Regions from separate parts of the Homo sapiens genome. Here region 1 is linked to region 2. The links are contacts of gene promoters, found by promoter capture Hi-C in blood cells and fetal thymus (Javierre and others, 2016). All regions are on one chromosome and are shown on one strand. Each heading gives the region's core, a stretch centred on a gene start or on the middle of the fragment in contact. The rest is flanking DNA. Distances are from core to core; before and after follow the strand shown.

What was found. The method cuts DNA at HindIII sites, captures the fragments that hold promoters and counts their contacts. A CHiCAGO score of 5 or more calls a contact.
Region 1: a contact is called between a fragment that was not itself captured here and the fragment with the promoter of APPL1 in region 2, in 2 of 17 cell types (total B cells and monocytes). The highest score is 6.4, in total B cells.

Annotation. Positions count from the first base shown.
Region 1 is chr3:57,665,175-57,669,419 of GRCh38, forward strand. DENND6A (DENN domain containing 6A) reads right to left here. Exons shown (of 20, transcript NM_152678.3): 4 at 949-1,061. Among named protein-coding and RNA genes, the nearest start is that of DENND6A, 26 kb to the right of the region's middle. The HindIII fragment of the contact is 1,088 bases long and covers 2,360-3,447 here.
Region 2 is chr3:57,224,318-57,229,142 of GRCh38, forward strand. APPL1 (adaptor protein, phosphotyrosine interacting with PH domain and leucine zipper 1) reads left to right here and starts at 3,412. Exons shown (of 22, transcript NM_012096.3): 1 at 3,412-3,620. The coding sequence starts at 3,567. It also overlaps a transcript of HESX1 not described here. RefSeq lists a silencer at 3,210-3,869. The HindIII fragment of the contact is 8,451 bases long and covers 1-4,825 here.

The DNA.
Region 1 (4,245 bases), core at 1,654-4,153, 440 kb after region 2:
AAAAAGTGAGGACAAGGAAGTAGTACTATACCTCTTTACTCGTTAAACAATTTGTAGTCATTTTAGATTTTACTTATATAATATATATGTACACTTTAGCTGGCAACACTGTATAAGGTATATTGTGCTGGAATAAAACAAGAGGTGGGATGACCTTGGGTAAGTTTCTTATGCTCAATAGCCCTCAATTCCCTCATCTACAAAAGGATCTCTCTTGGAGCACTGTAGGGAGGATTAATTAGATGATATATGCTTATTAATACAGTATCTAGAACATACAAAGCCCTAACAAATAACAGCTATTATTATCATTGGTTGGAAGAATATATTAGTAGTGACAGCAAGGAGGAGATGGCTCTAAGAGACATTTCACAGGTAGTATCTCTGCCATTAGTGGAACCAGGGAGGTAAACTGTAAAAACTGTTATCAGGCAAATTATGTCAAAGTCACACTGGATGTGCTGATAGGGCATCCAGATGAAAACGTTCCTCATGTACTTAAAAAAAAATCTAGGCTGTAAGGTCATCTGAATTATTAAAATGTTTTAAATAAATAATAACTAAAACAAGGCTCATTCAAAAATCAAAAAGAGACAACTATGTTATCAAGTATGACTACCTCAACTCTAGATGATAGTTACTGTACAGTACAACTCCACTCCCACATCTAATTCAAGAATTTATTAACAAATGAAAGAAAATTACCTCAACATTCTAATCCATTTTTATAAATCACAGTGACATTATGTTTCAAACATAGTAACTGTATAAAGTCCCTTTCATTCAGATGCTGAATCCTTATGAATAAGACTCACTTTGGAAATTCAGCTATATAATATAGTAGCAAAACAAAAGCAAAATATTTCTGAATGGTGTCAGCGGTAACTGAATAAATGAGTTCTAAAGTTTCCTCTCACATGGACATTTTCCTATGACTACTTTTCCAACCTTTAAGTAAACTGGTAAATCTTTGTCAAATTGATCCAGGAGACAATGCAGCGACACCCTCCTCCCAGAAGACTGTCGAAATCTAAAACAAAACTGGGTATCTCCAAGACAACCTAATGAAAATAAAAATGAAATAAATTAAGGATAGCTTAGTATAACATTTATCCAGTTTCATCAATTTTAGAGCTGAAAAAAATCCTATCAATCATTTTAACCCATTCTGTCATGTTTTGGAGGAAAAAAAGAAAATCCTAAGAGTTCCAGTGACTTGCTCAAAGCCATCCTTGCTGGTTAGAGGCAAAGCCAGAAGTAAAACATGCATCTTAACTCCTAAGTCTCTTTACTATTTTTCCTATTCCATATCCCTCATGTAATTAAACATTTTTGGAATATATCTGCATATAATGTTGACTCACAAACATAATAATGAGCAAAAGATGCCAAACACAAAATAACACATATTGTTCAAATCCACTTTTATAAAATGTTTTGAAAGCAGGAAAAACTAAACTGTCGTGCTTAGGGATGCATGGCTGGGTGATAAAAGTATAAAAAAAAGAAAAGTATTGTTATAAGAAAGGATAGTGGTTACATTTGGAGGAAAGATTCACCTCAATTTCCTTGTCAACAAAATCAAGGAGTACTATTAGATAATCTCTAAAGTCACTTCCAGCAGTAACACTCAAAGACACTAAAATAAAATTCCCCAATTTGACCTATGACTGTACTGAATTCCAAGCATCTTACCCAATACGATCACTAAGAAAACTAAAGATCTACAAGATCCAAAAAGATATAAAAGTTATGCTATGAGCACCATAGCTTTCTGATGATTCACTGAAAAATAGAAAAATTTTAATGGAAATTGACTTTTTCTTTTACAAACGTAGTTATAAGAATTAACTTACATAATTTTATTTTTTTGAGACAGAGTCTCGCTCTGTTGCCCAGGCTGGAGTGCAGTGGCGGGATCTAGGCTCACTGCAACCTTCACTGCTCGGGTTCAAGAGATTATCCTGCCTCAGCCTCCTGAGTAGCTGGGATTACAGGTGCGTGCCACCACGCCTGGCCAATTTTTTGTATTTTTAGTAGAGATGGGGTTTCACCATGTTGGCCAGGTTGGTCTCACACTCCTGATCTCAGGTGATCTGCCTCCCAAAGTGCTAGGATTACAGGCGTAAGCCACTGTGCCTGGCCTTTTTAAAAAAAATTTCACTAGAGATGGGGTCTTGCTATGTTGCCCAGGCTGGTCTTGAACTCCTGGGCTCAAGTGATCCTCCCACGTCAGCCTCCCAAAGTGCTGGGATTACAGGCGAGAGCCACCACACCTGGCCTTAAAATGTTATTTTTATATTTGTACAAACATAGCTACAGAGTGGATCAAAATGCCTAAGACTAAGACAAAACGTGAAGCTTCAAGAGCCAGCCCCCTCCCTTGACCCTCAGCTTATATAGTCACTCTCTCTGTGATTAGGGTGGTTAAGCTAGGTTGCTGAGAAACAGTATTTTAGACCAGAGCTTCTCACAATTTATTCCATAGACTGACGCCAGTCCATAAACTCTTGTTACTGTTCCATAACCAAATAAATATGCAAGTTGAGAATATATATTTAGAAACTTTCATAGCAACTTGATATTGCTGTAATAAATTTGGACTTTTAGACCAGACACAGTGGCTCACGCCCGTAATCCCAGCACTTCAGAAGGCCAAGGCAGGTGGATCTCCTGAGGTCAGGAGTTTGAGACCAGCCTGGCCAACACGGTGAAACCCCATCTCTACTAAAAATATAAAAATTAGCCGGATGCGGTGGCAGGCACCTGTAATCCCAGCTACTCAGGAGGCTGAGGCAGGAGAATTTCTTGAACACAGTAGGCAGAGGTTGCAGTGAGCCGAGATCACACCACTACCTCCAGCCTGGGCAACAGAGCAAGACCCTATCTCAAAAAAAAAAATTAGACTTTTATTTTACATTTCTTTTTTTTCCTCATTTCATTTTATTTTTCTAACAATTCAATTAAATTGTTTTTCAAAAATATTGGTCCATAACTGACTGGAAATATTAAAAACCCCAACTGGCCCTTCAACACGGTATGAGAAGTGCTGCTTTAGCAACTGGGAAGTGTAAAGCACATGATGATGTCCCTGCTGTCTACAAAGAAGAAATGTGTTGAGACGAATATTGTCTGCATGTCAAGTCCATCCAGAACAAGGAGGATTAATGTTTCCCTCAGATTCATCATTGCTTCAAACTCTCTCTACTAATGCTGAGTTTTTTTCTCTGGACATGTTTAAAATACAGTGACTTCTGTCCTTGGGCACTCATCACAGCTTAAGCCTCAGGAACACCTACATCCAGATGATGTTAATGGTAAATGATAAGGAAAAAAACACTGGACAAATATTTATCAGAGGGAAGGCCCTCTTTAAACTTAGGCTCCTAAAGATAAAAGCCATTCAAATGAAACAAAAAACTGAAACCTAAAAAACCAACCAAACAAAGCTTTTTTAAAGTCAGGAGAATCTAAGGTGGCGGAGGGGCGGGGAAGGGCAAACGATTCCAATCTCAAAAGCATTTTTATCTGTGTCATTTTTTCATCCAGTCTAACATGCTGTTTAAGTGGGTATACAATGGAAATAAAGGCTTGATTTATGTCTCTTTCCTAAAGACTGCTCTACTGTGTCTGGACTTTCTTCTACAGCAATTAAAGGTTATCCTGGGAAATAACAAATTCATTTCAAAGTTGGTACAGTAATCCTTTTTTTTCTTGAGATGGAGTCTCACTCCGTCGCCCAGCCTGGAGTGCAGTGGCACAATCTCGGCTCACTGCAACCTCAGCATCCCTGATTCAAGAGATTCTCCTGCCTCAGCCTCCTGAGTAGCTGGGACTACGGGCACACACCACCACGCCCAGCTAATTTTGTATATTCAGTAGAGATGGGGTTTCACCATGTTGGCCAGGCTGGTCTCGAATTCCTGATCTCAAGTTATCTGTCCGCCTCAGCCTCCCAAAGTCCTGAGATTACAGGTGTGAGCAACTGCACCCGGCCTCCAATTTTCATTTAATAAACACATAAAAAAACCAAACTGTATGGATAACTACAACTGAAAATAGCAATTTCAAATATTTACAAAACATATAGTCTCTTGCTACCTAGGACAATGATGATCTGTTAAGACAGCAAAGTGCCTGCTTTCAGGTCTTTTGTAGATTTTCCTTGTACCAACCATACTTCAAGTCACAAGAACCACACTTCATTTGATGTGCAGCACATAAAAAAAGCATTAAATAATATCT
Region 2 (4,825 bases), core at 2,162-4,661:
TTTGTAGAGATGGTGTCTCTGTGTTGCCCAGGCTAGTCTCAAACTCCAGAGCTTAAGCAATCCTTCCACCTTGACCTCCCAAAGTGCTAGGATTACAAGCATGAGCTACTGTGCCCACCTGACTCTTTAAAAATTTTTTTTAAATACAAAGTGATTTAGGAAAGGGAAATGATCATTCTCCATCTTGGATAGAGTTTTTCCTCATGTGGTTTGTGGATTACCCACTTCAGACTTAACTGGAGAGATTCCCAGCCCTGACTCTGACCTACTACACCAAAATCTTCCAGCAGGGCTCAGGAATCTGTATGCTAACAACCTTCCCAGATAACTTTTATGTGTGCATTAAGTTTGGAAACCACTGACCTAAAGGGATAATTTTTAAAAGTAAAGCACCAGCATCACTTGGGTTATTGGATTCTTTCCTATTACAGATCACAGACCAGAACTTCAAGGAGTATCATGTAAAAACCTAATTATAAGACCAAATATAATTTTAGGAGACTAATAATTAACAACTCTATTTACAAGACTGTACGTCCTTTTGTTGTAAATTATACGTGTGAAATGTCTCAAGGTATATATGTGAAACATCTCAAAGAAATCTTTAGTGGATGTTGTTTAATCCTGACTTGCTTTCCATAAAATTAACCAGTTGCCCAAAGTTTTTACTCTACTACCCACACGAGTCGCCAGTAACCCCTAAGGCATTCTCTGAACAAGCCTCATTTCCTGTATGAAAGAAAACTGGCTTAAAATGAACTGAGTTTGGTTAACTGCACAAAACGTAGGCTGAATAAACTTAAAGTGGTTATCAAAAAGGACTATGAATTTTGCAGCTTTGGAGATGTTTTAACTTAGGAAATACAACCATATTTTTGGATGAGCAGGGTATACAGTGGCCTAAAGCTAGAGAATCCAAATGGAAGGTTAAAACTGGATTCTAGTACAAATAGGTTAAAACTAGATTTGACTAAACCTACCTCTCCATCCAACTGAATGTGAACCTGTTTTTGTTTGTTTTATTTTTTCATTTTTATTTATTTTTTGTTTTTGAGACAGAGTTTCGCTCTGTCGCCCAGGCTGGAGTGCAGTTTCGGCTCACTGCAACCTCCACCTCCCGGGTTCAAGCGATTCTCCTGCCTCAGCTTCCCAAAGAGCTGGAACTACAGGCGTGTGCCACCATGCCCAGCTAATTTTTGTATTTTTGGTAGAGACGGGGTTTCACCAGTTGGCCAGGATGGTCTCCATCTCTTGACCTCTTGATCCGCCTGCCTCAGCCTCCCAAAGTGCTGGGATTACAGGCGTGAGCCCCACCGCGCCCAGCCTGTTTTATTTTTTAACCAGCTGAGTCCGGCAAGAATTCCTTGCCATTCTGCGATAATGTAATGGCCTCTTGAGAGTCCTTTACAGAAACACAGTTTAGATGTACATAACATACTAAGAAGGAAACCATTTAACTTGACAATACCACACCCAGATAATTCAGATAACTAATCGAATTTTTCATCGGAATTATTTGGTTTGGCCAAGTTAATTAGGTAACAAATACTTTTCTTTTCTTTTCTTTTTTTTTTTTTTTTTGATACGTAGTCTTGCTCTGTCGCCCAGGCCGGAGCGCAGTGGTATGATCTCAGCTCACTGCACCTGGGCCTCCCGGCTTCAACTGAGTCTCCTGCCTCAGCCGCCTGAGTAGCTGGGACTACAGGCACGCCACCACGCCCGGCTAATTTTTGTATTGTTAGTAGAGACTGGGTTTCGCCATGTTGGGCAGGCTGGTCTTGAACTCCTGACCTCAGGTGATCCAGCTGCCACGGCCTCCCAAATTGCTGGGATTACAGGCGTGAGCCACAGCGCCAGGCCTTTTTTTTTTTCTTTCTTATACATTGTTTACACTCCTCACTTACTCCTGATTCTTAACAGTTGCCACAACCTTTCTTCATTTAAAATCTAACTCAGTTCAATCAGGAAGGTCACTTACCTTGAAAGTCTTCCTTCTTTAGAGCTGGGGTGCATGGTGTTCTTGTTGGCAGAGTAGAAATGAGATATCAAGGAAAAAGAAACTGTAACACAACTGGGAACCCTTAACTCATTGTAAGAACTGCCTCCAAATCAACTTCCTCAAAAACTAAAGAACTCTTCGGGAGAGAGAGACTGGCTGATAAACAATCTAAGGGGAAAACTTTTAAAGATTGTAACACTAAAAATAATTCCGTAAAACTACAATGCAAGTCTACTCAACAAAACTTTAAAAATATAATTTTATTTTTCTTTCAAGAGATCATGGGAAAATCTACTATTTTCGTTTAAAATATATAACTTCTATTTGTTACTATATTTGGATTTGAGCTACTACTATTCTGGATTTGTTCCCATGTATCTGTGGAACCAGGCAGCTAATTAATCTTTACTCAGCATCTCTGGTATTTCTTGAATGAAAATGGAATGGATTGGTGGAATTAATGGCTAGATGTTTAGAAGACACTACTTACTTTGTTATTTTCTCTGTATAATGATGAAAGCCTACAACTATACAGAGACATAAACGAGCCAGGGTGACAGGTTGGGAAAGATGAAGAGGGAGGAGGAAAGGATAGGCTTGTAGCCCTCATCCGGTCAAATTCCCAACTTTGAGCTTCACTTTATTGTAAAATTAGAGGCTAAAACTATTTAACGCTTCCAAAACTTTTTGATTCAACAAATGCCAATTAGTTACTAACATAATTAATCAGTGTATCCTGATTTTTAAAAGATATTTTCCTTTGTGATTTAAAAGAAACATGGGAGTTGGAGTTGCAGCGTCAGTCCTGAAGGACTGACCTCGGGAGGCCAGGTAGGAACTGATAAACTGGCAACAAAATCACATGTTTTCAACTGAATATACTGATATTCAAGCGTCCAGAAAAACAATTTCGAGCCTACGTTCACAAGTTTGCCAGAAAGCCCTATTATTGACACAGCTGCGGATCTCAGACATCTGAGTTAGTCAGCACCATTCTGCTGGAGGGGATTAAGACTGGACGCTTCGAGCGGAGTTGGGAATGTTATCATCTGAGGAAACTAAAAGGCGCCAGCAGTAGGACTTTCTCCAAGGTCTCTGACAAAATATGTTGCGGGAAAAGTCAACCCGCCCCAAATTCCCCCGTGTGGCCCTAACTCGAGGCTCTGGCTCCTCGCGCCGGCAAGCTGAGGAAGAGACGGTCCCCTGCGATTTAGATACAAACGCGCGCGTGCAGGGAAGGCCATCCCAGGGCAGACACTGCCACCTCCGCCGCTTCCGACGCCCGCGCTCGCGGGAGAGCCTAGCGCCGCACGGGAACCTCCCGACCACCGCCGCAGCGCGGATGGGCGTCCCCGGGAGCCAATGGACGCGCCGGGAGGCGGGGCAGGGAGGCCGAGGGGGCGGGATTTCCCGCACGGCCGCTCGGCGCCTGGAGAAGGCTGTGCGGGCGGGGACGGCTGCAGCCCTTGCCGGAGAGGGCGGGCCGGGGTCAGCTGCGGCGGGCGGGCCGGCGCGGGGAGCTGTGGGCGGCAGCTGCGTCTCCTGCCACCGCCCTCCCTCCGCCACGATGCCGGGGATCGACAAGCTGCCCATCGAGGAGACGCTGGAGGACAGCCCGCAGGTGAGGCGCGGGAGCTGGTGGGCGACGAGGGAGAGCCCAGCTGGCCGACCCCAGGTCTGGCGCCTCCGCGGCTCCCGCAGGTGCCCGCCCCGGCCCAGGTGGGGGCCGCCGCCGCCCTAGGTCACCGCCCGTCGCAGGCCGCGCCCGGAGTTGTGGAGGCTGGGCCCGCCGCCCAAGGCCCGCGTGGGCCTGCTCGGCTGGGCCGAGGGCCGCAGGCGGAGACCGAGCCGCTGGTGCTCGTGGGCCGGGCGGTCACGTACGCGCGCGGGTCCTTTTTATTTGACGAAAGGCGCCGTTTTTATCGCGGTGATGTGAGGTGCCAAATCTCGATCCTGGAATTTTCTCCCTGAGAACCTCTTCAGAAAAATTGCAGAAGGGAGAGAAACCCCGATAGTCTTATTTAATGATTTCCGAGGCTCAGCAAGCTAAGGAAGGAAATGGATCGTTTTTCTTTGGGAGAGGCTGTAAGGTTGTGTGTGGAGCCCTAATGGCAAAGCCCGTGACGGGTCCCGGAGCCCAAGACCGCTCTCCCCGCCGAATGTGCCCGTGTCGCGGCCGTGACTGTGGTCGCTGTCACTCGAGCTGTGCACGGCGAGGGATGGACGGTGCCTTCGCCGCTCCGCGACTGCTGCGCTGCTCCCTGCAGACTTGGCCTTAATAAACTCATCAAAATAAAAGCCCTGTGTTCTGTGCGTCGGAATGATGCTGATGTGGTTGCTCTAGCTTAAGACAGTTTTGGAAAATGTAACCATTTAATATGTTTTCAGTACTGCAGAATGAAAGCAGCTATATTTTTTAAAATGTTGGCAGGGGCTGTAACTTGCATAGGGAAAACTTCATCTCTAAGCCGTTTTACACGATAATTTAAACGGTTTAAGACGGTGTTGCTGGTTGGACACTATTTAGAATGAAACATTTCTGAATTGTTGCTGATTTAGAAATGCAGTTGCACCATTTCGTGTGTCTTTACAGTTGAACATGGCCCCCAAAGAAGAAAAGCAGAAGAGGTCTAGATCTCCTTTTCCTGGATGGCACTTCTGCCATGGATTTTGTGCCAATGTTAATTGCCAAGTTGAAATGGGGCTCTGATTGTAGAATTGATTTGTTCTTTTTTATTCTGAAAGTTATCTTCACAGGCCAGTTGCCTGCTGCTAATGTACTCTTAACAGCTGATAGTGACAAAAAGAGAAACTCACATTTGGTTT